Linked DNA regions of Homo sapiens: regions 2, 3, 4 and 5 are each linked to region 1. Evidence: promoter capture Hi-C in 16 types of primary human blood cells and fetal thymus (Javierre and others, 2016). All regions are on one chromosome and are shown on one strand. Each heading gives the region's core, a stretch centred on a gene start or on the middle of the fragment in contact. The rest is flanking DNA. Distances are from core to core; before and after follow the strand shown.

Region 1 (5,179 bases), core at 1,806-4,305:
GCCTAGTTCATTTTAAATTAGCCCCTGGAATTTTTAAGAAGCATACAGTTAGATAAATGTGCATTGGGTAAGGGAGTACATTGTGGGAAATAGAAGGGAGTGGAGTTTCAAAGTATGTTTCAAGGCTATATTTTAAGACTAAAGAGAAAAGGTTTCTACAGTTTGTTTCAAGGTTACAGCTTGAGACTGGCAAGAAAGGAGAAAAGAAAAAAGTTTTCTTTTGAAGCTAAACTACTTGGTTAGAATACCTTGTTTTGCTTAAAATTAGTTTCCACGGACCTATCCACAATAACATTAATTGAGGACTTACTGTATTGAATGGCTTATCACATCAATGTCAAAATTGATGCTTTCATTCATTCAACAAATTATTATTGATACACATTATGTGTCACATACTGGGCTTTGGCACTGTGGCAATGAAGAAATATTTTCCTTCTTTTCTTGCTTGCTTGCTTTCTTTCTCTCTCTCTTTCTTCTTCTTCTTCTTTTTTTTTTTTTTTTTGATACAGAGTCTCGTCCTGTCTCCCAGGTTGGAGTGCAGTGGCACAATCACTGCTCGCTGCAGCCTCTATCTCCTGGGCTCCAGTGATCCTCCCACCTCAGCCTCCCGAGTAGTTGGGACCACAGGTGCACACCATCATGCCTGGCTATTTTTGTATTTTTGGTGGAGATGGTGTTTCACCGTGTTACCCAGCCTGGTCTTGAACTCCTTAGCTCAAGCAATCCACCCACCTCAGCCTCCCAAAGTGCTGGGATTACAGGCATAAGCCACCATGCCTGGTGAAGAAATATTTTCTTAATAACAAACTTAACAAAGAAATTAGACAGGCAAGATAGGGTAGTGATTTTTAGAGTTGAGACAGCCTGGAGTTTGAATCCCAGATCCGGGTATTTAATAGCAACATGACTTACACAATACTTAACCCATTTTGCCTCAGTTTCCTAATCTGTCAAAAAAAAAAAAAAACCTAGTAGTACCACTTAATAGGGTTGTTGTGAATAATGTGGTTATTAGTGTAAAGCTTTAGAACAATGCCTGAAACTTAGTAATTATTCAATAATTAGCCGTTAAAAATGTAACAGCTATATATGTAATGTCAGATAGTGAAAAGTGTTATAAAGAAAAAGAATTCAGGTTGGGTGCAGTGGCTCATGCCTGTAATCCCAGCGCTTTGGGAGGCTGAGGTGGGTGAGCCCAAGAGTTTGAGACCAGCCTGGGTAACATGGCAAAACTCTGTCTCTACAAAAGCCACATACACAAAATTTAGGTGGGCATGGTGGCCTGGGCCTGTGGTCCCAGCTACCTGGGAGGCTGAGGTGGGAGAATCACCTGAGCCTGGGAGGTCGAAGCTACAGTGAGCCAAGATTATGCCACTGCACTCCAGCCTGGGTGACAGTGGGAGACTCTGTCTCAAAAGAGAAAAAAAAGGAATTCAGATAAGGGGATAGTGCATGGTGGGATTATTTTACAGCAGCTGTTGCAGGAAGGCTGCTCTGAGGAGGTGACATATGAGCAGGGACCTGAAACCATATGAGAGAATACGCCATGCCATGGTTTGTGGAAGGACTATTTTAGATGGCAGGAACAAAGGCCCTGGGGCCGACAAGAGCTGCAAGGCCTAGGAGAGGTGGCAGAGAAAAAGATGCAAAGACAATTGTGAGCCAATCCCTACCCCATTGTGCTCTTTCTGTTTACACCTTTGGAAGGCAGCTGTCTGGGGGGGGTCTGATCACTTGCTGCAGGTGCCCTGAAAGGACACATGAGGGGCTGCTGTAGCAAACTGAAAGTCTTAGAGATGGGAAATAAGCTTAATGGATAGTATATACTTACCTTTATCAAATACTACTAGTCAAGTCAGAAGACATTGACAGGTCTAAAATCCCTTATCTTTCTTAAAAAATAGAAAGATAATAGAATGCCTGTGACTGTGTACATATTAACATTCTACAAAGACCTGGAGTGAAATGAGTAAATATTGACACTAAGTGGGATCCATAAAGGCTAGAAATAGCTTCATGCAAGCTTAGTTTAGATTTTGCCTCCAAATGAGGCAGGGCAGGTTTTACTTCCAAAGGGTTACAAAAAAAAGTCTTTGGGTTTTCAGTGCGCTTTGAATTTTGCAATTACAGATAAATGACTGGGAACCTGTAATAATTTCCTCATATGTGTCATTTATAGGATCCGCACTCTGGGAAACAACTTGTAGAAGACAAAATAAAAACCAGAACTCTGGGTAATTCTGCCTTAGCTCCCGTCTTTGAAGTATTTTATATTTGCTAAGTATAAATTCTTAAGATATTCTACTTGAAATAGCTGAAGAATCCCCTCTCTGGGACAGGTGCAGATTAAAAGAGCGCCACTCCATGATTTTCATAAAGGAGAAAATACGGAAGGCAGCCCCTGTGGGCAGCCCCGGGCCTACATGAGTTGATAGAGTTGAAGGTATAAATGTAGAGTATTAAGTTCCCAGTGACCGGAATGACCTGGTGAACAAAGAGGACAACTTTGCCAGTTTTCCCCTCTATTCAGCACATTTTGTTTCTCAGGTAAACATGGCTTGAAGCACGAGTGAGATGAAGCCTCAATGTTGGTGTCTACGTGGAGGCTTCCCGGATAGCCAGGATGTTCATAGCCCGGATGTTCATAGCCCTTCAGAACAGATGGAAATACTGCATTTATCTTCATCTGTACCGAAAAGGTACAGATAGAATGATAATAACCTGAACAAGGCTCCCCTTTCAATCCAATTATTCAGACGCTTAGGACCAGAAACTGCGAAACATAAAAACTGCAACCCGGATCTTAGTTATCTCGGTCTTAATGAGCTGCCGGCTGTTTCCCACTGCACCCCCCTTTCCGGGGGTCTTGCTGCTGAGATCTCCGCGCAGAGGGCGGCTCGGTCATCCCGCCGCCGGGCGCCGGCCACCAGGGGGCGCTGCGGCCTCCTCCCTCTCCCGGGAGCGGCCAAGCCAGCCCGGTGGGTGTTTCTCTCTCCCTCTCGCGCTCTCTCCTCCCGGCCTCACATCCGGGTCTGGAGCGCGGCCGCCGCTGTCACTGTTGGTGCGGGCGCGTCGGGGCCGGGCCGGGGCACTGTAAATGGCGGCGGAGGGAGGCGGAGCGGCGGCCACGCTCAGCCCAGATCCCCCGAAACTTTAGGTTCGAAGCCCCACAACTTTCCGGGAAGCGCTGCCGCTCCGGAGGCGTGGACGGAAGGGGAAGCCGAGGCGGGAAGTCTGGGGGAATCGGCAGGGAGCCGGGGAGACTCGAACCCGCGGCGGGGGCGGAGTCCGCCAGTGCCTCGCGCCTCCGCGGCCCCCGCCTCTTTCTCTGCACCCTCCCCGCGGCCGGAGCCGGAGCCGGAGCCGGAGCCGTAGTCGCAGCCGCAGCCGCAGCCGCGCGCCGGGCCTCGCAGGCAGCGGCGCGGCGAGCGCAGCCGGGCCCCCTCCTCGCGACCTCCGGGCCCTGTTGCTCGGGCGCACCTGGCGCGTGTGAGGCCGGGGCCGGCGTTTTCGGGAAGCTAGCAGGAGGCCGGGCCACGCGCAGCCCCTGCCGGCCCAGGTTCCTGGGGCCGGGCCCCGAGTAGTGCATGCGGGGCGGGGCGGCCGTGAGCCGGAGGCGAAGATGGAAGGCTTAACGCTGAGCGATGCGGAGCAGAAATACTATTCAGATCTCTTCTCCTACTGCGACATTGAGAGCACCAAGAAGGTGGTGGTCAACGGGCGGGTGCTGGAGCTGTTCCGGGCCGCGCAGCTGCCGAACGACGTGGTCCTACAGGTAACGTCGCGTCCCGGGGCCGGCGGGCGGCTTAGGCCTGCAGTCACTGGCCTCCAGGAGTGGGAGTGGGCGCCGATTCCTTGGGGCCCGGCGGGGGGCTGGTTCCTCGGGGGGTCCCCGCAGCGGGCAGGGGCCGCAGGTGCCCGGGAGGCCTGGACTCGCGCCGCGGCCAAGGGGGAGGGGGTTGCCCTTAGAGGACGGAACTCCTGTGGTGGGGGTCTGAAGAGCCTCAGCCGGTATCCCCCACGACCCTGAGAATCTGTGCTCTGTACTGCAAGAGCTATCTCACTTGAAGGATCTTAGGTTGTTAATGTGTGTGAATCCTAGAACCTGGCATATAGAGAGCTTTTCGGATCCTGCAGAGTAGTAAAGTTATCAGTATGGGCAAAATGGTTTTTTTAATTCTTGGATTAACCGAGAAGACGTGATAAAGTGAGTTCTATAGATTTAGGAATCGAAGAAGCAGTTTTTTTAAAGGAAGCAAAATTCTTAGGGAAATTTTTTAAAATGTGAACTACTTAGTAGTTTTACAAGTAGGCATACAAGAAGTTGTAATTATCTGTAGAACGTGTGTATGTGATGAGACTGAACAATGTTTTTCAACAGGCATTCGAAAGCATTTGTGGAACTTGTGGATTTGGGTTGGGAGATGAGTATTGAACAGCTGGTAGGCAGAAGTGCGTTATTTGCCCTAATCTGAAGCCCTGGAGGAGCAAACCCTGTAGGTTTAAAGCCTTTTTTTATCATATCTGCTTTTGAAACAGAGGACTTCCTAGAAGTTCTTATCTAATGTATGTGGTGAGCATTAATGCTACTCTGTTTAATGATTCATAGCTGCTAGTAGGAGTCTGTCTAAACAGTATGTTAGGAACAGGTTTTAAGCTTTCATCTTTTATATTGATCCAAGCTAGTTATCCACATCTCCAAAATTTAAAGCCACATGTATAGGTGTATGTAGTGGACTGCAAAGCATTGGACCAGGGTTTTGAAGGCTGGGTCCTTGACCCTACTCTGCTGTTAACCAGCAGTGTGACTTTGGGTCAGGCACTTTCCATTTTCAAGCATAAGTATGTTCATCCACAGAATGAAGGCAAGTTTCTTCCAACAAAAATTCTGTGAAGAATAAAAATGTCCACACACAGGTCTCTGTTTTAGAAGTTAAGTCTGCATTAACTATGACTAAGTTGAACGAGTTCGATCTTTTTAAATGGTCTTGTGTTTTACATTGCTTTTTTAAAGGTGGGATGTCTTACGTGCCAGTGAAGGGCAACGAGGAGTCCCAAATTCATCCTGTTGAAAAGGGACAAATAGTAAATATTTTGGGCTTTGCTGGCCACATATGCTCTCTGTTGCATATTCTTCTTCTTGTGTTTACAAAACACAAAAATGTAAAGCCATTCT
Region 2 (5,179 bases), core at 780-3,279, 240 kb before region 1:
TAGTGTCAGCTATTCATGAAATAATTGCATGCACCACCAGCCCAATGTGACAGTCATCATGGACTCACAGCTCCATCCCCAGGCAAGAAAAGGAGTATGTCTTGAGAAATTCTCCATGCCATTCCTCACAGAGACCAGCTGCAGAGCATGGAGCACAAGAAGTGGTAGCAAACAGGCTAAATTGATTCTGGCCTGCCTAAGCGGAGAGGAGCTCTTCAGATGGTTACTATCTTTAACTAGGGTGACGTCCTTGGAGGCGGAGTCCCAGTCTCCTTTTTCTCTGCTATTATCCAGCTGAAATCAAGCCCCTGAATAGTTTCCCTGAACCAAAAGCCAAAGAGAAATAGTGTCCAATCCATTTATGTTTTAATCAGTGAGTCAGAAGGTAGTAAACCAGGACTGATTGCAGATCCTACTGGCCTATCAGCCATGCCCATAACTCATTCTTTGTGCCAAGAGATTTTTTGCTGTGATACAATTCATCTCCCCAAAATATTTAGCACTGACTAGCTATATAGTTGTAGGTGGACCATCTGGCTTCTCCCTTGCCCATTATTAGAAAACCGATATTGAAGTCCTTCAATTCAGTCTGGGAGTAATTTAAAGCAATACCAAGAGGAAGGAGAAGGAGAGCTTTTTATAACAAACTAATTGTCTGCCACACGTGTTAATTAATAATCTTCAAAAGTTAAAGGGAGCAAAATAGGTAAACATAAATAAAAGCCAAGGATAGATTGGGAGAATATAGTCACAGTAAATACAACGAAGCATTAACGTCCAGGAAAAAAAGAAATAGTACAAAGTAATAAGAAAAGACAACTCAGAAGAAAGTGGGCAAGGGCAATGGAAGATGGGGTGGGAGGTGCATTGTCTATCAGAGAATATTTAATGGTAATAAGACCAACCACAAGCCAGTCTGCTTTTTATTGTCACCATGCACAGCAGTCCCAAATAATGTGAGTGGTAGTTTTCCTCCCTGCCAGAGATGATCACACCCGCTGTGTGTCCCACCCTCATTTCTAAGCTCCTGGCATGGGATGTGAACGGGCAGTTTGTAGAAGAAGAAATACAAATAACTAAAACACATCAGGTAAATAAAAATAAACAGGCCAGGCATGGTGGCTCACACATGTAATCCCAGCACTTTGGGAGGCCAAGGCGGGCAGATCACCTAAGGTCAGGAGTTCGAGACCAGCCTGGCCAACATAGTAAAGCCCCATCTCTACTAAAAATACAAAAATTAGCCGGGCGTGGTGGCAGGCACGTGTAATTCTAGTTACTTGAGAGGCTGAAGCAGGAGGATCACTTGAACCCGGGAGGTGGAGTTTGCAGTAAACCAAGACCACGCCATTGGTCTCCAGCCTGGGCAACAAGAGAGAAACTCCATCTCAAAAATAAATAAATAAAATTTTAAAATGACACACAATCACTTTTGCTCATTAGCCTGACAGAACTTTCATACTGATAATACCCAGTATTAGAAAGGATGAGGGCAAATGGGTATACTCAGAAACTGTCAATATGGTATTGGGTCATCTGTCCTTTTCTCGTACATTTGTAGGAGTTCTTTCAAAGGGCAATTTGGAAGTATTGATTATCTTTCCCTAATGTGCAAAAATAAAAATTATTTAGCAAAGAGCAGACATATCGCTTTTTCCTGCCCATGTCCCTTCCTTGGAAAAAATACTTTGTCCTGGATACATGCAGTCTGGATGGGGCCATCAAGCACAGAGCCCTACCCACTCACCCAGTCCTGGCCTCAGGAGACGGGCCTAAAACAGTGTAACACTTGATAGAGTATTTAGTTCAAAGACAGTGGCAGCTCCAGAACTGCCATAGAAGAGGGCTTATGGACTGCAACTGGGTTGAAAGTGGGGCAGGAGACTATTTGGCTTGTCATGAAGTTGCACTTTCACACTAATTTTATTCATACGTTATCTGGGGGTTTGTGTGAACTGAAGCCACTCCGATCCAGTGTGCTCGCCCACGTGTACCAAGTGGGGTCCAGTCTAACCTAGCTATTGGGTTTTTTTCTGCTGTAATTCTGCCTACCAAGAGGAATCACCTGCAGGTAGAATCAAGCCAAGAGGAGGTGAGTGGAGTTGCAAGAAGAGAAACTTAATCCTGGTAACCATATTTCAGCCCCTGGAACATGTTGGTCTTTTTAGATCCATTAACTTCCCTTTTTTTTTTTTTTTTTTTTGAGATGGAGTTTCACTCTTGTTGTCCAGGCTGGGGTGCAGTGGCATGATCTCAGCTCACTGCAACTTCTGCCTCCTGGGTTCAAGTGATTCTCCTGCCTCAGCCTCCCAAGTACCTGGGATTACAGATGCCCACCACCATGCCCAGCTAATTTTTTGTATTTTTAGTAGAGATGGGGTTTCACTATGTTGGCCAGGCTGGCCAGGCTGTTCTCAAATGCCTGAACTCAGGTGATCCACCCGCCTCGGCCTCCCAAAGTGCTGGGATTACAGGTGTGAGCCACTGCGCCCAGCCTAGTTTCCCTTTTTAAGAGGGTATGGTTGCGTTGCTGGATGGGTTGCTGTCATCTGCATCCAAACAGCAATGAGTAGCAGAGATGAGAAGAAGCATGAATGGCTACACCATGGTGGCACACCAAAAGAAAAGAGGTCTAAATTCTAATAATTAACTTCTATGGAAATAGTTCCAAAATCTCATTTCTCATTTTAATTTCTCAACATATCTTTAAAAACTCTTTATTGCAAAAATGATGATTTATTACAAAGTGAATTCTCACATGTAACCCACCACCTGGGTCAAGAAATAGAGCATAGTCAAGCATCCTACAGGTTACCCCTCCCTCCTTCTTAGAGAAAAGCACATTTGTTTTGCCTGTGTGTGTATATGAGTGCCTGTGCGTGTGTGCATTTGTGTGTGTAAGGGGGCTGTTTTTTGTTTTTGTTTTTACTTTGTGAAGTTATCCTTTTATGTCTGGCTTCTTTTGCTCAAAACTATCTATGTGCAATTCATCCACGTTTTGGCTTGTAGGAGTAGTTCATTGATTTTCATTGTCATATAGTGATCTATAGTATGAATATACCACAACTTATCTATTCCGATGTTGACTGACATTGGAATTGTTTCCAATTAGTGTCCACTACAGATAATGTTGCTGTGATATTTCCTATGTGTATATGTAGGAGATAAATTGGTGGGTTATATGACATGTGTCTATTTCAGATATAGGAGATACTACTAATCAGTTTTCCAAATAGATTGTAACAATAATTTCAACTACCAGTGTATGAGTGTTCCCATTGATCTATGTCCTCCCCACACATCATGTATCAGTTGTTTTCATTTTAGCCATTTGGAAGCGTATAGTAATATCTCACTGTCGTTTTTTTTTTTGTTTGTTTTGTTTTGTTTTTGAGACAGAGTCTCACTCTTTCTCCAGGCTGGAGTGCAGTGGTGTGATTTTGGCTCACTTCAACCTCCACCTCTCGGGTTCTAGCGATTCTCATGCCTCAGCCTCCTGAGTAACTGGGATTACAGGCACACACCACCACACCTGGCTAATTTTTGTATTTTTAGTAGAGACAGGGTTTTGCCATGTTGGTCAGGCTGGCAAAACTCCTGACCTCATGATCCTCCCACCTCGGCCTCCCAAAGTACTGGGATTACAGGCATGAGCCACCACACCTGGGATCTCACTGTAGTTTGTTTTGTTTTGTTTTGTTTTGAAACAGAGTCTTGCTCTGTCTCCCCAGCTGGAGTTCAGTGGTGCAATCTCAGCTCATGGCAACTTCCACCTCCTGGGCTCCAGGAATGCTCATGCCTAAGCCTCCCGCGTAGCTGGGACTATGGGCGTGCACCACCATGCCTAGCTAATTTTTGTATCTTTTGTAGAGACGGGGTTTTGCCATGTTGCTCAGGCTGGTCTTGAACTCCTGACTTAAGTGATCTGCCTGCCTCAGCCTCCCAAAGTGCTGGGATTACAGGCATGAGCCATGCACCTGACCCTCATTGTAGTTTTAATTGGCCTTTCCTGATGACTAATGAGGTTGAGCACCTTTTTCTATAGTTATTGGTCAGGCGTATAGCCTCTTTCGTGACATGCATATTCATGATGTTTTTTTCCCTCATTTCCTATGGTTTATCTGTTTTTTCTTGTTCATGTGTAGTAATGCTTTATATTTCTGGAAAGCAGTACTTTATTACTTAACAATTACAAATCAGTTCTGCTATGCTGTGGTTTACCTTTTTATTCTCTTAATATACTTTGATTAAAAGAATTTATCAATTTTAATAGTGTTCAATTTATCAATCTTTTACCTTTTTTGACAAATACATTTGTATTTTGTTTTTGTCATCTTTGTGCTACTTTAGTCATAAATTGAATGTTCAGGTGTATGTGTGTCTTTCTCTCTCTCTCTATCTCTTTTTTTTTTTTTTTTTTTTTTTTTGAGACAGGGTCTCACTCTGTGGCCCAGTCTGGAGTGCAGTGGCGTGGAGCAATCTCAGCTCACTGCAACCTCTGCATCCTGGGCTCAAGTGATCCTACCACCTCAGCCTCCCGAGTAGCTGGGACTACAGGCACGCATCACCAGCCTGGCTAATTTTGGTATTCTTAGTAGAGACAGGGTTTCTCCATGTTCTCCAGGTCGGTCTTGAACTATTGTGCTCCAGCGATCCACATGCCTCAGCCTCCCAAAGTGCTGGGATTACAGGTGTGAGTCACCGCACCTGACCTATGTGTGTCTTTTTTCTAAACTCTATTCTGTTCAGTTGATTTGTTTATCCTTGCACCAATACCACATAATTTTAATTACTGTAGCTTCATAATAAATCTTTATAGCTGATAATGTAAGTCTTCCTGCTTTGGTGTTCTTCAAAGTATTCTTAACTTCTTAGCCCTTTTACTTTCATATATAATTTAGAATCAGCTTGTCAATCTACACACACAAACACACACACACTGGGGTTTTCATGGGGATTGAATTTAATGTATAAATCAATTTGAAGAGAATTGAGGTTTTCACAATATTGAGTTTTCCAATCCAGGAATGTGGTAAATATCTCAATTTATTTAGTTCTTCTTTGACTATTTTCAGTAACATTGTATATTTTCTTGGTGTCTTTGTTTATTTTTCATTAGGTTTAATTCTAGATGTTTGATGTTTTATGATACAATTGAAAATGACATAGTTATTTAAAT
Region 3 (5,179 bases), core at 1,683-4,182, 200 kb before region 1:
GGGCTAATAATTAGGAACCCACTCATTAAGGTTTTCACAGAGGACAGGAAAGATTTTGGTGAAAAAAATCTAGCCCAGCACTGTCCAATAGAACTTTCTCTAGTAATTGAAACGTTGTATAATGGGTGCTGTCCAATATGGTAGCCACTAGCCACATGTGACTACGGAGAACTTGAAATATCGTTAGTGCAGTTGATAAACTGGATTTTTTTATTTTTATTTTTTTTGAGACAGAGTTTTGCTCTTGTTGCCCAGGCTGGAGTGCAATGGTGCAATCTCGGCTCACCGCAACCTCCACCTCCCAGGTTCAAGCGATTCTTCTGCCTCAGCCTTCCCAAATAGCCGGGATTACAGGCATGTGCCACCAAGCCCGGCTAAGTTTGTATTTTCAGTAGAGATGGGGTTTCTCCATGTGGGTCAGGCTGGTCTTGAACTCCTGACCTCGGTGATCCGCCCATCTCGGCCTCCCAAAGTGCTGGGATTACAGACGTAAGCCACCGCGCCTGGCCAGATAAACTGGATTTTTAATTAAAAAAAAAAAATTAAACTTCATTTGAACAGCAGTATGTGGCTAGGCTGCTGTACTGAATGGCACAGCTCTAGAGGTCTTGATTCTAAGCAATTCTTGTATCTGTCCCCCTTTCTATACAGTACAGGGATTGGGAAACAGGATTTTTAAGGTGTCTTCTTTTTCTGACGTTTTCTAACTTTTTAATCTTAACTACTTAAATAATCCCACACAGGAGCACTGCTATGGTCTGAACGCTTGTGCCTCCTCCTGCAAATTCATATGTTGAAACTCTAAGCCCCAAGGTGATGGCTTTTAGAGGTGGGACCTTCAACACCTGTGAAAAGAAGAGAAAAACAAAAGCAAAAAACAACAGAAGGGGTGGGGCCTTTTGGGAGGTCATTAGATTATCAGGATTCTGATCTAATCAGAATGAGTTTGGTGCCCTTAGAAGTCCAAGTATGCTTTGTTCACACCTTTGCCATGTGAGGACACAGCTAGAAGACATCATCTATAAGAAACAGGCCCTTGGCCAGGCGTGGTGGCTCACTCCTGTAATCCCAGCACTTTGGGAGGCCGAGGTGAGCAGATCACAAGGTCAGGAGTTCCAGACCAGCCTAGCCAATGTGGTGAAACCCCGTCTCTACTAAAAATACCAAAAATTAGCTGGGCATGGCGGTGGGCACCTGTAGTCCCAGCTACTTGGGAGGCTGAGGCAGGAGAATCGCTTGAACCTAGAAGGTGGAGGTTACAGTGAGCTGAGATCGTGCCACTGCACTCCAGCCTGGGCAATAAAGCGAGACTCTGTCTCAAAAAAAAAAAAAAAAAAGAAAGAAAGAAAGAAACAGGCCCTCAACCAGACACCAAATCTGTTGGCACCTTGATCTTAGACTCCCCAACCTCTACAACTGTAAATAATACATTTCTGTTGTTTATAAGTTACGCAGTCTAAGGTATTGTTATAGCAGCCTGAACAGACTAAGAATCACTTTTATTCTAAATGTGTAAGATATGAAGGCAGTTCTTATGATCCAGGTATTTTCTTTACTGTTAATATTTTGACATTTGGTTTTCTGAAAGGAATCCCCAAGGAAGTAGGCACCCAAAACACAAAACTAGGAAAGAAAATTGTCTGAATTCCCCACAGCTGCCAGCACATTTGTTTGACAGACAGCTAATGGGCACAGCCCTATAGTAGGCATTATGGATAGAAGTTGTCAAAGACAGTCCCTGCCCTAGAGGAGAGCCTACTTGGAGTGACATTTACATGGAATCCCATCACGTGACTTCCATAGTACAACAGCTAGCAATATCTCTGTATCCCCCATCTGAGTGACTTCATACCCGACAAGATCAACCTTGCTAAATGCTGACATAGATCCTATAAAACTGTTTTCATCTGGCTCTGACCTCTCTCCCCGCAAACCTCCACAGCTGCAAAGACAATATTGTCTTTGAAGAGGTGAAAGCTTACTTCCTTGGCCCAAACTGGAAATCTGACCTGGAAGTTTGTATTTTCAAAAAGAGCACATCTCTACAAGTTGAGAACTCCATTTATTTCAGACCTTTCTTATTTCCTTTCTTTTGGGTTTAATAATAAATTCTGAAATCCTCAGACTCATAATTAATATCTTGTTAATTAAAATTACACATAAACCAAGAAAACTAAATGCCAAAGTACTTGCTCTAACCTCAATATAGAGGCAGTTCTAATAATAAAAAACACTAATTTGACTATTTTAAATATTCTTCTTAGATAAAATCATCCTTTTGAATTTTAATGCTTAGCAGTTTTGAATAAAGCTTTCACATGTAGCTTAATTTGCTAGATATTTTCTTAGAACTTTCAACTAATGCAAATCCAAACATGCAACATGAAAAACATCAAAAGAGAAATCATAAACTTTTGGGCAACAGAATACGCCTGTCACCTCCTTTGCAATGCTTTTACCCCGAAAGCTGTAATAAAACATTAGTGCTTCTTACACTACACATCATATGATTGCTTACTGTTAAAACCCCAATTCCAAAGAACCACAGGTTATATCCCACCTACATAGAATACGAGGTTAAAGAAATCTGGGCCGGGCATGGTGGCTCACGCCTGTAATCCCAGCACTTTGAGAGGCTGAGGTGGGTGGATCACCTGAGGGTCACGAGTTTGAGGCCAGCCTGGCCAATGTTGTGAAACCCCGTCTCTACTAAAAATACAAAAAGATAGCCAGGCATGGTGGCACATGCCTGTAATCCCAGCTACTCAGGAGGCTGAGACAGGAGAATTGCTTGAACCCTGGAGGTGGAGGTTGCAGTGAGCCGAGATCATGCCATTGTATTCCAGCCTGGGCGACAGAGCAAGACTTCGTCTCAAAAAAGAAAGAAAGAAAGAAAAAGAAATCTGGAAAACAATTGAGATTCCAACACAATTTTTCAAAAAGCTCTTGCTTCCCGGCATACATACAAAGTGCTACATATGCATTAATAAATCTAACAAAAATGTAAATGAGAGACGTTGGGAGTGAAATTTCTCTTTCAGAAATTTTTCAGTTCAATAAAATTCTTAATACAAAAATGCAAACCTTATAAGTCAAATGCTTTGTCAGAATTTCGATTAGATTTTTTAAAAATAATCTACACTTAAAATTTCATGTTAGGGTAGATCACAGATCCTGTTTTAGATAAGAGAAACAAATGGATCATTTTTCCATCCAAAGAAGAAATAGGTTTTTGAGCACAGGTCTCAGTTTGAAGCTGACCCAACTAGGGAAAAAACAAATACGGCTGTCACAAAATTTCTATCCATCCTTATTAAGACAGATTTTATCTGCCTGCCAGTTGCACAACTTTCTCAACCCTCTTCTCATCTCACTGCCTCACTGAGGCCTGGTTTTATCTCCCTTTCCATCAACGCACCCATCGATTTGAGAGACATAAAGTAAAGCCACTCTCAGAAGCTCCTGTATCCATGACACAGGATCTGCAATTCCTCCACTGCTATTAGAGAACTCTTCAGGAGCCTCTTAGTAAGAAGGCCCCTGGGAAGCTTTCTTAGGGGTTACCACCTAACTGGTTGGTGATGGAAAAGGCCATCAAACATTGAGCCATTTTCCTCATCGGTAAAATAAGTGTTGAGTCAGACAATCTTGCCCTAACATAAGAATGCTTCCAGAAATAACATAAATGATCCTAATACGGAACATCTTTGGCACTTACTCCATGCCAGTGACTGCAATAAACACTTAATTTAATGATTTCATTTAACACCCCCAGGTAGGGACTCAATATTTACAGGTGAGGGAAGTAAGGATTTAAACGAGCTTGAGCAGTAGAATCTTCTCTCAATCAACCTTTCCTTAACCAATCCAGCAATTAACTGCCTCTAAATTGCTTTGTAAAGCCACACTATGATGAATGACCTCGGCCAGATGAATGCTGGCAGCTGGGAGCCTCCTCGCTATCAGGCACCATCTGCATATGGTTTCCCCCAGCAGAGTTCTGTACTTACCAAAAGTTACTCAGGTTTATTCCCAGACTTGCTTATGCCACAGTTACGTTTGCCATTGCAATGATGTAATTTAATAAAAAAGTGCACAAACCAATGAAATATAATTATAAAAAAAAAATACTGTTTTGATAACTCAGTAGGATGCTTTGAGCAGATGAGGCAAATCATATACACAAAATACTGAATTAAACATGGGGAAAAAAAAGCAAAAGATTTTAAAAAATGGAAATCCTACAAGTCTAGAGAGGTTCTATATTTATAGTATTTCTCATGTGTCATTAAGTTCCAATTCCACTTTAAAGAGAACCAAATAGGAAGCATTCTTACAGTGCATCATAAATGAAGGTTTGCAAGAAAGTGTAGTCCTACAACTAGAGGGTCTAAAGAACCAAATCTGTCAAATGAAAGTGTATTACTGATTTAAATATAAATAAAATGTTTATGATATACAAGTTATCCTGGGTAGGGAGGTGCAGGGGGGAGAAGAGGGTATTTTTTTCTGGCTGATGGAGGTATAATTGACACAGAATAAACTAAACATATTTAAAGTATACAATTTAATAAGTTTGACAGATGTCTACATCTGGGAAACCATCACTACAATCAAGACAGTGAACACATCAGTCACCCCCAAATTCTCTCATGCCCTTTGCAATCATTTTCTTTCTCTTCTCATTAATATTCCTCCACCCATCTCCAGGCAACCACCAATCTGTCACCAGATTCATTTGCATCTTCTAGAGCTTTACATAAATGGAATCATACAGGGTGTAGTCTTTTTCTCTGGCTTCTTTCACTTTAATTATTTTGAGGTCCGTCCATGGTGTTGCATGTATGAAGAATCTGTTCCTTTTTATTGCTGGGTAGTACTCTGCAATTGCATATTGCAATTTTGTTCATTCTTCTGTTGATGGGTATTTGGATTGTTTCTTTTTGGGGCTATTACAAACAAAGCTGCTACAAACATTCATGAATGAGTCCTTGGGTAGACATATACTTTCATTTCTTGAATAAATGCACAGGAGTGGAATGGATGGGACATAGGTTAGGCACATGTTTAACTTTTTAAGAAAACTGTGAAACTGTCCCACCAGCAGTGTAATAGAGTCCCAATTACTTCATATCTTTGCCAGCACTTGATATTCTTTTTAATTTCAGCCATTAAAATG
Region 4 (5,179 bases), core at 994-3,493, 190 kb after region 1:
TTACCAGGGAAACCAACCATGTGATTATGCAGCTGGAACTTTCAGCTCCATCCTCTGACCTCTGGGGAAGAGAGAAGGGCTCAAGTTGAGTGATCACCAATGGCCAATGATGTCATCAATTGTGCCTATGAATGAATCCTCCATTAAAATCCCAAAGGACAAGATTCAGGGATCTTTGGGATAGCTGAACATGTGGAGGGGCTGAGAAGGCATGGAAGTTCCACACCCTTGCCCACATACCTTTCTCTGGGCCTCTCTTCTATCTGGCTATTCATCTGTCCTTTGTAATATCCTTTATAATAAATGGGCAAACATAAGTAAAGTGTTTCCTTGAATTCCGTGAGTCACTCTAGCAAATTAATCAAACCGGAGGAGGGGCTTGTGGGAATCCAGATTTGTAACTGGTTGGTTAATCATAAACAACATATAGTCACAACCTGGGACTTGTGATTGGCATTTGAAGTGGGGGGCAGTCTTTTGGGACTGAGCCCTGAACGTATGGGATCTGACACTAACTCCAGGTACACAGTGTCAGAACTGGGTTAAATTATAGGACGTAGAGTTGGTGGCCACTGGAGAATTGGTTGTCGGTGGGAAGAAATTCCCATACATTTTGGTGACAAGAGGTGAAGGGCTGTACTGAGTGTGTGAGAGTAAAGAGAAAAAAGTTTTTTGTTTTTTTTTTCCTCTCAGAACAACCAAAGCCAGATTAAAAGATGAAATGGCTGAACAATTGCCAGCCCATATAGAGAGCTAAATCCTCACTGGGATCACACAGAAGAGCAATGATGTCAATTAACTGTGTTTCCACAGGTTATCTGTTATACAGCTGGAGAAATGCAAGTTAGTCTGGTCCTTCTCCACTACAGTAGACAGAGTGGCTTAGAAATTAAAACACTGCTCCTCGGCAGAGGTATGTACCTACATGCGCGTACTTCTGCAATTCACACATGCAAATTGTGCAATGATTCCTTTATTTATCAAAAATTTACTTCCTTAAATATGCCTCCAAAAAGGTATCTGGTTCTAAAGATCGCACAAAAGAACGGGAGTAGAAGAAAAGTAAGTGTGATTGGTGAAAAAACAGAAATGAAAGACAATTCCAGTTGAGTTAAATGTCCCACATTTAGGGCATGTAAAACTACATGCCAGTATATAATTTTTATTAAGTACACACTAAGCAATGGATAATGAAAATAATGGCGTGTTTTGAGGAAACCTGGGCTATTGATCTTACAGGCGGTGATAGAAAATACCATACTTGTGCTGGTATTTTCAAATGGTGGATGTGCTCACTGATTTATAAGTTTAAAGCTATAAAACTAAAGCTGTAACAAACAAGATGCAACTGTTGCTATAAAACTTCCAAGTCCTTAACCCTTCTTCCTCCCACTGAAATAAGTGTTTGTAGAGCATGATTTTTGAGGTTTCTGTGGAGCACAAATGTCAGTTCCTGCAGAACAGACTTTAACAGGCTTGGATACAATTGCATGGGTTGCAGTGAACTTTAACACCAATGATGTCAGGATATTGTGTTCTGATACATATGCAAAGTTTATTAATAAGCACAGCATCGGTATTTTTAAATCGATATTTTAAAGTACCACTGTTTTATTTGTCCTGCTCATCAAATCTTAGCATATTAACTCTTAGAGCTATCCTTATAACCAAGACCTATATTCACAGTAGATTTTTTGTATTCCTCCCTCATTCCCCCAACCCAGCCCCCACCCTACTCCCTACATTTTTGGACCCCATAGGAGGAAAGAGGGAGAGAACTGTCAGAAGGAAGAAGGCAGTTGGTGTGAACCTATGAAAATCAGCGTTTTCCAAAGTGTTCAAGAACTTTACTTCGATCCCAAATCAGTTCTCTGGAGGAGGTAAGAGTTTACTTGGCATGGCCCGATGCAAACCCTACCCTACGCGTGGATTTTGTTTCTCCCCAGAGCCTCTTCAGAATCTTGGTTAATTCCAGAGCTGCTAAGGGACTCCAGGGTCGCGGAGGGAGGGCCCTGCGCCCCTCAGCGCTGCTTAGGGTCTTCCTGGGCGACTGCACTGGGAAACTAAGCCGGCCCAGGCGATGTGCCCCGGGCGGCCCCAAGAAAAAGACTAGCGGCTCAGAAGCCACGGGCTTTACCTCTAGGAAGTGGCTATGAGGCCCGGTACAGTGGCGGCTGTCTCCTCTTGGAACCGCGCAGTGAAAATCGAGTGCGCCAACTCGGGCCGCAGCTCCGGAGAGGGGTGGGGCAGGGACAGGGTCATCTCCATAGGGATCCAACAACACGGAGCCACCACCCCGCCCCACAGGCCCGCAGCCCCTCCCGCCGCCGCGCCCGGACGGCCAACCTGCATCTCCCCAGCTGCAGTGAGCAAAGCCGCCCGCGCCGTGCGAGCCACCGCCCTTCTCTTGAGGCCAGCTAGGCTCGGGTCCCGGCTCCTTTCCCTGCCTCCAGGGAGCTTGCGGTGGGAGAAAGCTTCCGTGGGGTCCCGTGGGTCGCGGCACGTCTCGGAAGCCCTGCGAGGTGCCCAGCAGAGGTGCCAGACCCAAGGCCGTGGGACCCCAAGAAGAGACTTGGACACTGAAGCCAACGTTTGCTTGATCTCAAACAAAGCCAGCGATGTTAATTAAGGCTGTGTGATGAGGAAAGTGGAGTTTCTTATTTTTTGTCACATTCATCTTCAGCAGATCCTCAGAAAATGTTAATATTTACTGCAGAATTACCAATTTCAGCATTATACAGGAGGTACAAAAACAAAACCAAAAAACCCTTCTTCATTAGTTTCAGGTCAAAATGTCTTTTAACTATTTATTGTGAAGCCTGTTTTTTTCTTTTGTATGTAATAGTTATGGCCATGAAAAGATGCTCACAGTACATTACTTACAAAAAGCAGCTTAGAAAACCAGCAGAATGGTACGATCTATTTTTTTTGCAACGTGTGTAAGAAATCTGGGAGTATGTACACAAATAGGTTAAATGGTTTGCTCTGGTAGTTTTAAAAATCATCTGTAATTCAATTTTTCCTACAACGAATAAGCAACATCTATGTAATAAACCATAAGTTTCATTCTAGTAAAGTTTCATATGAGAAATGTGATCTTGCTATGCTGCCTAGGCTGGAGTGCAGTGGCTATTCACAGGCCTGGTCATTGTGCACTATATTTTTATTTTTATTTCAAATATCTTTTTCTTTTTCATCTGTATGCCAGTAAAATCATCATTGTACACTATAGCCTAGAACTCCTGGGCTCAAGCAATCCTCCCGCCTCAGCCTCCAGAGTAGCTAAAAGTACTGGTGCCTGTCACCAAACCAGGCCTTAAATTTTATTCTAATCCAGGCACTGCATTTTTTCCTGTTTCCTTGAACATGTGTTTAAGGAGTGTGAAAGGATACAAATTAGATAAGCTAATATTTCGCTACCTGGGACCCATTTAGGGCCCTGTGACACAAAGGGCGAATGAACCAAGTGAATAAACAAGGTCAATCCACTGCTCTGTCACAACCCGCAGGAACCAGCTTTTTGCTTTACTCTATCTCAGGACCAATCCAAGAAAAACATGTCACATGACAAAGTGTCCTTTCGCCCTGTCAGACCCTAGAGTACGACTTTTTCCCCCTTAAATCCCTATTCTCACAACCCAAATGAAGTTTCCTCCATGATGCTGTAATTTTTAAAAGGGGTATTAAAAAGACCAATTTACTGATCAAAATACTTTGAATTCAGAAAGCCAAAAATTATTAAAATCAAGATTTGAAAAATATTCAGTAAGTCCCTCTCCTCCCCTCCCCCAATTAGGTGCTTATTTCTGTGGCCTGGAAACAAGGAGACAGAAGCATGAGCATCTTCTGCAACACAAAGGTAACTGAGTTATAAATAAGCAAAATGTGTTCTATCCATACCATGGCATATGATCAGCCAAAACAAGAAATGAAGTACATGCAATAACATGGATGAAGCTTCAATCCTTGAAAACATCATGCTAAGTAAACGAAACCAGTCACAAAAGGCCACGTATTGTATGATTCCATTTATATAAAATGTCTAGAATAGAAAATCCAGAGAGCTGGAAAGGAGGTTAGTGGCTGCCAAAGGCTGAGGGGATTAGGGGACAAGGAGTGACTGTTAATGGGATTCTTTTTAGTGTGATGAAAATGTTCTAGAATTAGATCACGGTGATGGGTATATAACTCTATGAATCTACTAACAATCACTGAATTGTACACTTTAAAGGGGTACATTTTATGACATAAATTATTGTTTCAATAAAGCTGTTTTTAAAGGGTGATGAAATTAATGTTTACTGAGCATTACTGGTATCAGCTATTGTGCTAGGCATCTCTCTTTTTTTTTTTTTTTTTGAGACAGAGTCTTGCTCTGTCGCCTAGGCTAGAGTGCAGTGGCACAATTTCGGCTCACTGCAACCTCTCTGCCTCCTGAGTTCAAGCAATTCCTGTGTCTCAGCCTCCCTGATAGTTGGGATTACAGGAGCCCGCCACCACGTCCGGCTAATTTGTGTGTATGTGTTTTTAGTGGAGATGGGGTTTCACCATGTTGGCCGGTCTGGGTATTGAACCCCTGACCTCAAGTGATCCACCTGCCTCAGCCTCCCAAAGTGCTGGGATTATAGGCGTGAGCTACCGTGCCCGGCTTGTGCTAAGCATCCTATACGCGCTTTTTCACTTACTCCCCATACAACAACTACCAACTTGGTTACTGACCTCATTTTCTAGATTTAAAAAAAAAAAAAAGAAAAAAGAAAAAAATCCAACCTGAGTAAACGTGCATGAACACAAAGTTAAGGGGGCAGAACGGCGATTCAAATTAAGGTGTAAGTAACTTTAAAGCTCACATTCTTTCATCACACCAGTATTTAAATGTACACAAGGTACAGAATTTGCAAGGAGTTCAAGAACCTCAAATTTTATAAACACAGTTTACTTTTAAGGATTGAACCCTTGTATTTCCCAGATTGAAGACTATATGGGTTTCTTCAAAACAGACAACAGAGATTAATTTAAAACAATTACTTTATTAAAAAATAGCAAATCTCACAAATACTTATTTAATTTCTTATCACTGGCCATTGGAAAACACACCAGCATGTGTACTGATTGTCTAACATAAACTGAAGCTGGGCTTGCCACAAGACGCCTGTGCATCAACAGCTTGCGATCAACA
Region 5 (5,179 bases), core at 1,863-4,362, 170 kb after region 1:
GATCCCCGCTTACCCCTGATGTTTCCTCGAGTAATTTTCCATCCATTGAGCCCCATCCTGCTCCTTGGCTATCCGCCCATGCTGCATTTGAAGTTGAGCCCAATCTCTCTCCCGTGACCCCATGCAGCAGTCCCTGTAGCTATCTCCAAGGTTCTCAGTAACGTCCGCCTTACTGTCTTCAGCAAGTTTCATTCGATGTTTTCTTCTTTAACCTCTTTACCATCTCCACACAGAAATACTCTCCTTTTAAATGGACATTCAGTAACTGAGAGTGACATGGCTGCTCTATATTTAAAATTAACCTAGGAGTATGTTGTCTCTGAAAAACTGCACACCAGATTGCCTCACAGATCACAGCTGAGACAGACGTCCTCAAGTGAGCCCTCACAGGCTGCGTGGGAAGAATGGAAGAGGGGGTAATGAAGTGGGAGAGGGGGCTGTTCTCTCTTAATACACCTTGGTGGATATTTTTCTGCCCTCCAACCCCATTTCAAGTCTGCTCTGATGGAGACAAGTGACGAGAGTGAATCCTTCATGGGCTGTTTATGATCTCACACGCACACGCACATACACACCTGGGTCAATGCATTCCCCCTCTAGGGAATGCAGTTGCATGAATGCTGCCCCACCCATCCAGGAAAGCTGCAAGTTTGAGCAGCTCTGGCTCTGGAACCAAAGGCCTTTGTTTGAGGAATTACCAGGCACTAAGCAGAGGCAATTCAAAACCGGTTCCACCAGTGTGGCAAGGGGACTGATTCAAACTCCTCACGGGTTTCTCTGAGTGTAACAGACACAAGCAGCCCAGTTTCCTTTAAGGAGTCACAGGAAAGGTCAACCTAGTCAAGTGGTAGGGGAAAGACATCACTGGAAACCATTAGTCATGTGGACGACACGGGGCCATAACATACCAAGAAAAGCCACAATTGAGGTATAAAGTTGCTAGGCATGAAAGACCAGCAGAGAAGTCTTCCCAGGAGAAGGGACATTTTAGTTTGCCAGAGGGATGGTTTAAGAAGCTAAACCTTTAAAAAATGTCTTAAATATCATAAAATTCCACTTAGGAAATCATCTTAAAACTTACTAGGGAATACTTATTAGGCCAGGAAAGAAAACTCTAAGATATTTGAATATATCTCATAGAGATTATGAATAATTTTTTAAAAGAAAATTGTGTTGACAGTTTCCACCAATATTGCAATACCCTGTTTATAACTGACTGAATTAAAACAAAATTATTTGGAAATTATAAAACCATCTAAAACAATGGCCTCTCTACCTTGAAAGAAAGGTATTGCACAAATATAGCCTAGCTTACATATAAACATTTCAAGTATTCAAATAATACTAATTTCTTTCATTTATTAATTTATTTACAGTTATTGGGTAAGCAAGACTACAGGAATAAATGATCCAAAAGAAATGCTTAATAATTAAAAATTGATTGCACTACCATTGGACCCAGCAATTCCACTCCTATATGTATAGCTAAGAGAAATAAAACATCTCTATGCAAAACTTGGACACAGATGTTCATAGCAGCACTATTTATAATAATTATTTACAATAATCAACTGAGGAGTGGATAAATAAAATATGGCACATCCATACAATGGGATAATATTTGGCAATAAAGGAAAGAAGTACTGACATGTGTAACAAAATGGATGAACCTTGAGAACGTTATAATATGTGAAAGAAGCCAGTCACAAAAGACCACATACTGTCTAATTCCATTTATACGAAAAGTCCAGAATAGGCAAATTTATAGAGACAGAAAGCAGATTTGTGTTTGCCCAGATCTAGAGGGATGGAGATGAGAAGTTACTGTTAATGGGTAGGGGGGTTCTTTGTGGGATGATGAAATGGTCTAAACTTAACATGTGATGATGATCACACAACTCTGTGAATGTACCGGAACCACTGAATTGTACCCGTAAATGGGTGATTTTTATTGTATGTGAATTATATCTCAATAAAGATGTTTAGGCCGGGCGCGGCGGCTCATGCCTGTAATCCCAGCACTTTGGGAGGCCGAGGCAGGCAGATCATGAGATCAGGAGATCGAGACCATCCTGGCTAACACGGTGAAACCCCATCTCTACTAAAAATACAAAAAAAGTAGCTGGGCGTGGTGGTGGGCGCCTGTAGTCCCAGCTACTCAGGAGGCTGAGGCAGGAGAATGGCATGAACCCCGGGGGCAGAGCTTGCAGTGAGCTGAGATCGCGCCACTGCACTCCAGCCTGGGCGACAGAGCAAGACTCCATCTCAAAAAAAAAATGTTTAAAGGAAATTTATACTAACATTCATGAAACTATGAAATACAGTCTGCTCTCTGAAGAAATGCTGCTGCTATCCAAAAACAAACAAACAAACAAAAAAAAAAAGTACTTTCACTGAACAGGTTAGTTTTATATTCTTGTCTCACAGAAAAAAGAATTCAGTTACCGGACAAAGGATGCAATTTCCAGTGACAAAAAGTCAGGCCTGAGTTAAGCTGCTTCAAAATATACCATAAGATCTCTAATGACCTCCAGTGGTCACAACTAAAATTGCCTGGTTTATGATACGTGAGCCTAGAACATGATGCACAAAGTGGTTATAAATGTGAGGTCTGGTCTGTTATTTTCTTATCTTGAAAGCTGCAAAGTTGGAGTAAAAAGAAACATAGCCAATGACTATCATAAAATGTCTTCCCCCTGATTTTTCAACATTGACTGAAGGGCCTGTTTATCTGTGCCCTGTCTTTGCAGCCTCTTTCAACAGAGCCAGGAAGATGCCTGTCTCCTTCCAGTGACTCCATGGGGAGAGTCCGTTAACAATCTGCTTTGCACCCACAGATGCAGGAGTAGCTGACAGGTGAGGAGGAGAGAAAAAATGGCTGATCAAAAGAGACTGGCAGGAAAACATGTAAGAAAGAACAGGAAGCAAGTACTCCACCTAAAATATGCCAATTTGATCATGCACCACTCTCAGATATTTTTGCTGGGTATCTAAGACATCCGAAGGTTACCCTCTCCTGCAACCTCACCACCAAGTTCTAGTGAAAGTACCTAACATCAAATGATGCCATACCTAGAGTTTTTCTAAACAAACATTAGTAAATAAGCCCAAACAACTTCACACAGTCTCCTCTGTAGGACTGATGAAGTCCCAGCTCTTTCTCCTCTGGGCAAAAGATTCATTCAAAAGGACAATGTTTCAGAAATAGTATTCTATTATTTTTACCCTCATTGTTGGCCTCGGGCTACCAGAAATCCTCCAGACTAACATAAGGCTTTTTATCTGGCATTGAGGGCTGGAAAACCATCCTGCCACGTACCTGCTACCAGCCTGGCTGGATTCTTCAACCACACCCAGGCAAGCTGGAGGGCTCTCTAGAATATTTCGGTCAGTCCACACATATCTTGAATTTCACGAAAGAGAATCCGTTTCTAACATTCATCTGGCTGGTTAACAAGCCACGGGTTGTTTTGAGAATAATGTCTGATATTTGCTATGCTAATTAGTAAAGTATCTAATAACTCAGGTATTGTGACCTTCCAATCTAGAGCTGGCTAATGACCCCTAGGGTATTCATTCCTGACCAGAACAGGAGCTGACCCTGGGCATAACTTCAACTCACAGATGTCACACCATCTGTGCTGAGTGTTTTAAAGTAAATTACAGACATAACATGAGGGAAGGGGAAGAAAGAGAAAGAGAACCCTCTTCGTAATCCTTGACTAGGGCTGTATAAGTCTTGCCCATATTCCTAAATGTTTCAACCACTGTCACTTGTCATATATTTTGTAGATCCATCCATTCATTTAATGATTATGCCTACCTATGTCCCAGACATCCATTTGCAATATATTGTCTGTCTGATGGTTCCAAGGAAAATTTAATATGCTAAGAGAATGTTAAAAATTCACTGACTGAAGCCATTGTGTTTTTGCCAACATGAAACAGTCCCACCATAGTATGAAAGCATTAAATCCTCCCCACGGCTTCACTTCAGCCTCAAGGCAAAAGCAGGCACTGGAAAAGTCTGTTTATAAACCTTAAAATATCAATTACCTTGTTTTTTTTTCTCCCTAGGAACAAAAAATCTCTTAAAGGTTATATAAACATTTATATACGGTTTTCTTTAAGAATCAATGTTAATTACATCATTAGGCTACATTTACCTTAATTGTGATTTAGTGCATCTTAAAAAAATTGCGAATAAGAATTCTTGACGTTGCTTGTTAGTCCAGAGGTCAAACCAATGACTTATAAGAGCCACTCTTTCCTGAAAGAGCTATAAGGGGGAGGGGAGGAAGTGACATTTGCTGTACAGTTCATTGTTTTTAATTGCTAAGCAATCTTTAGACAATCTACCAGCAACCTCACAGCTAATATTTGCAGAGTGCATTACAGTTCACAGAGCGCTTTCACATATAGAGAGAAAGGTCTCTCCTTTCAGGTTAAACTTTTTACCCAGGGATACTGACAGGCCCAGGCTTGTTGGGTGGGTTGATGGGAAAGACTGGCAGTGATGTAATTATAGAGGGGCCCAAGAAGGGCCTCTGGAAAACAAAGAGGTAATGATTCCTGGATCTTGTTTCTACCTAGGCTAATGTGGCCTAGGGAAACAGAGTCCACACATTTCATTTTGAAAACATATACGGGCTACACTCATTTAATTGTGAAAACAGAACCATTTGAGGTAGGTATAACTTCACTAACTCACAACCCTGGATCTTTATAGCACCCACCAAGATGAAAGTAAGTATCGCTAAATAGCCAACAGAGACATGTCTCTAGGGAAGACATACATTAAGGACCAGAGTCCCCCAAACCTGCGTTTCGGTCCAGCTTTGCTCAGATAGAGATAACAAACTCACTGTTATTATCATAGGTCAGGCTTTAGTCCCAGCCTGGTCTAGTCTCCTTCTCTGGTGAATGAGGCTGAACTCACAAGAGCACCCAGTTTGCCTTCTCTATTGCCAGAGCCACCATAGGCCATTAAATGACGACTTCCTGAATTACCTTAAAATAGGAGAGGCATCCCCAGGCCACATGGAACCATCCAGTTGGCACAGGAGGGAAGAGAGGATTACAAATACAGAGGAACACAAGCATGAATACTCCCAGCCCCCACCACCAAAATCACCTTCTCACCTCCTTCCCTATCTACAGCAACTGTGTGTCCTAGAGG

The links. Contacts are between HindIII fragments. The CHiCAGO score rates a contact against its expected background, and 5 or more counts as called.
Region 2: a fragment that was not itself captured here is called in contact with the fragment with the promoter of REPS1 in region 1 in 1 of 17 cell types (total CD4 T cells); the score reaches 5.7 in total CD4 T cells.
Region 3: a fragment that was not itself captured here is called in contact with the fragment with the promoter of REPS1 in region 1 in 5 of 17 cell types (naive CD8 T cells, non-activated CD4 T cells, total CD8 T cells and 2 more); the score reaches 7.0 in naive CD8 T cells.
Region 4: the fragment with the promoter of ECT2L here is called in contact with the fragment with the promoter of REPS1 in region 1 in 2 of 17 cell types (endothelial precursors and megakaryocytes); the score reaches 7.7 in endothelial precursors.
Region 5: a fragment that was not itself captured here is called in contact with the fragment with the promoter of REPS1 in region 1 in 8 of 17 cell types (M2 macrophages, megakaryocytes, endothelial precursors and 5 more); the score reaches 13.4 in M2 macrophages.

The regions. Positions count from the first base shown.
Region 1 is chr6:138,986,129-138,991,307 of GRCh38, reverse strand. REPS1 (RALBP1 associated Eps domain containing 1) reads left to right here and starts at 3,055. Exons shown (of 20, transcript NM_001286611.2): 1 at 3,055-3,778. The coding sequence starts at 3,626. RefSeq lists silencers at 2,824-3,063, 3,254-3,553. The HindIII fragment of the contact is 2,634 bases long and covers 2,029-4,662 here.
Region 2 is chr6:139,225,551-139,230,729 of GRCh38, reverse strand. It overlaps a transcript of TXLNB not described here. Among named protein-coding and RNA genes, the nearest start is that of TXLNB, 64 kb to the left of the region's middle. The HindIII fragment of the contact is 6,911 bases long and covers 1-5,179 here.
Region 3 is chr6:139,186,468-139,191,646 of GRCh38, reverse strand. It overlaps a transcript of TXLNB not described here. Among named protein-coding and RNA genes, the nearest start is that of HECA, 54 kb to the right of the region's middle. The HindIII fragment of the contact is 1,237 bases long and covers 2,314-3,550 here.
Region 4 is chr6:138,793,151-138,798,329 of GRCh38, reverse strand. ECT2L (epithelial cell transforming 2 like) reads right to left here and starts at 2,243. Exons shown (of 22, transcript NM_001077706.3): 1 at 2,138-2,243. It overlaps CCDC28A (coiled-coil domain containing 28A), which reads right to left. Exons shown (of 6, transcript NM_015439.3): 6 at 5,011-5,179. The HindIII fragment of the contact is 4,734 bases long and covers 1-2,476 here.
Region 5 is chr6:138,813,591-138,818,769 of GRCh38, reverse strand. It overlaps ECT2L (epithelial cell transforming 2 like), which reads right to left. Exons shown (of 22, transcript NM_001077706.3): 4 at 4,167-4,279. Among named protein-coding and RNA genes, the nearest start is that of ECT2L, 20 kb to the right of the region's middle. The HindIII fragment of the contact is 6,618 bases long and covers 1-5,179 here.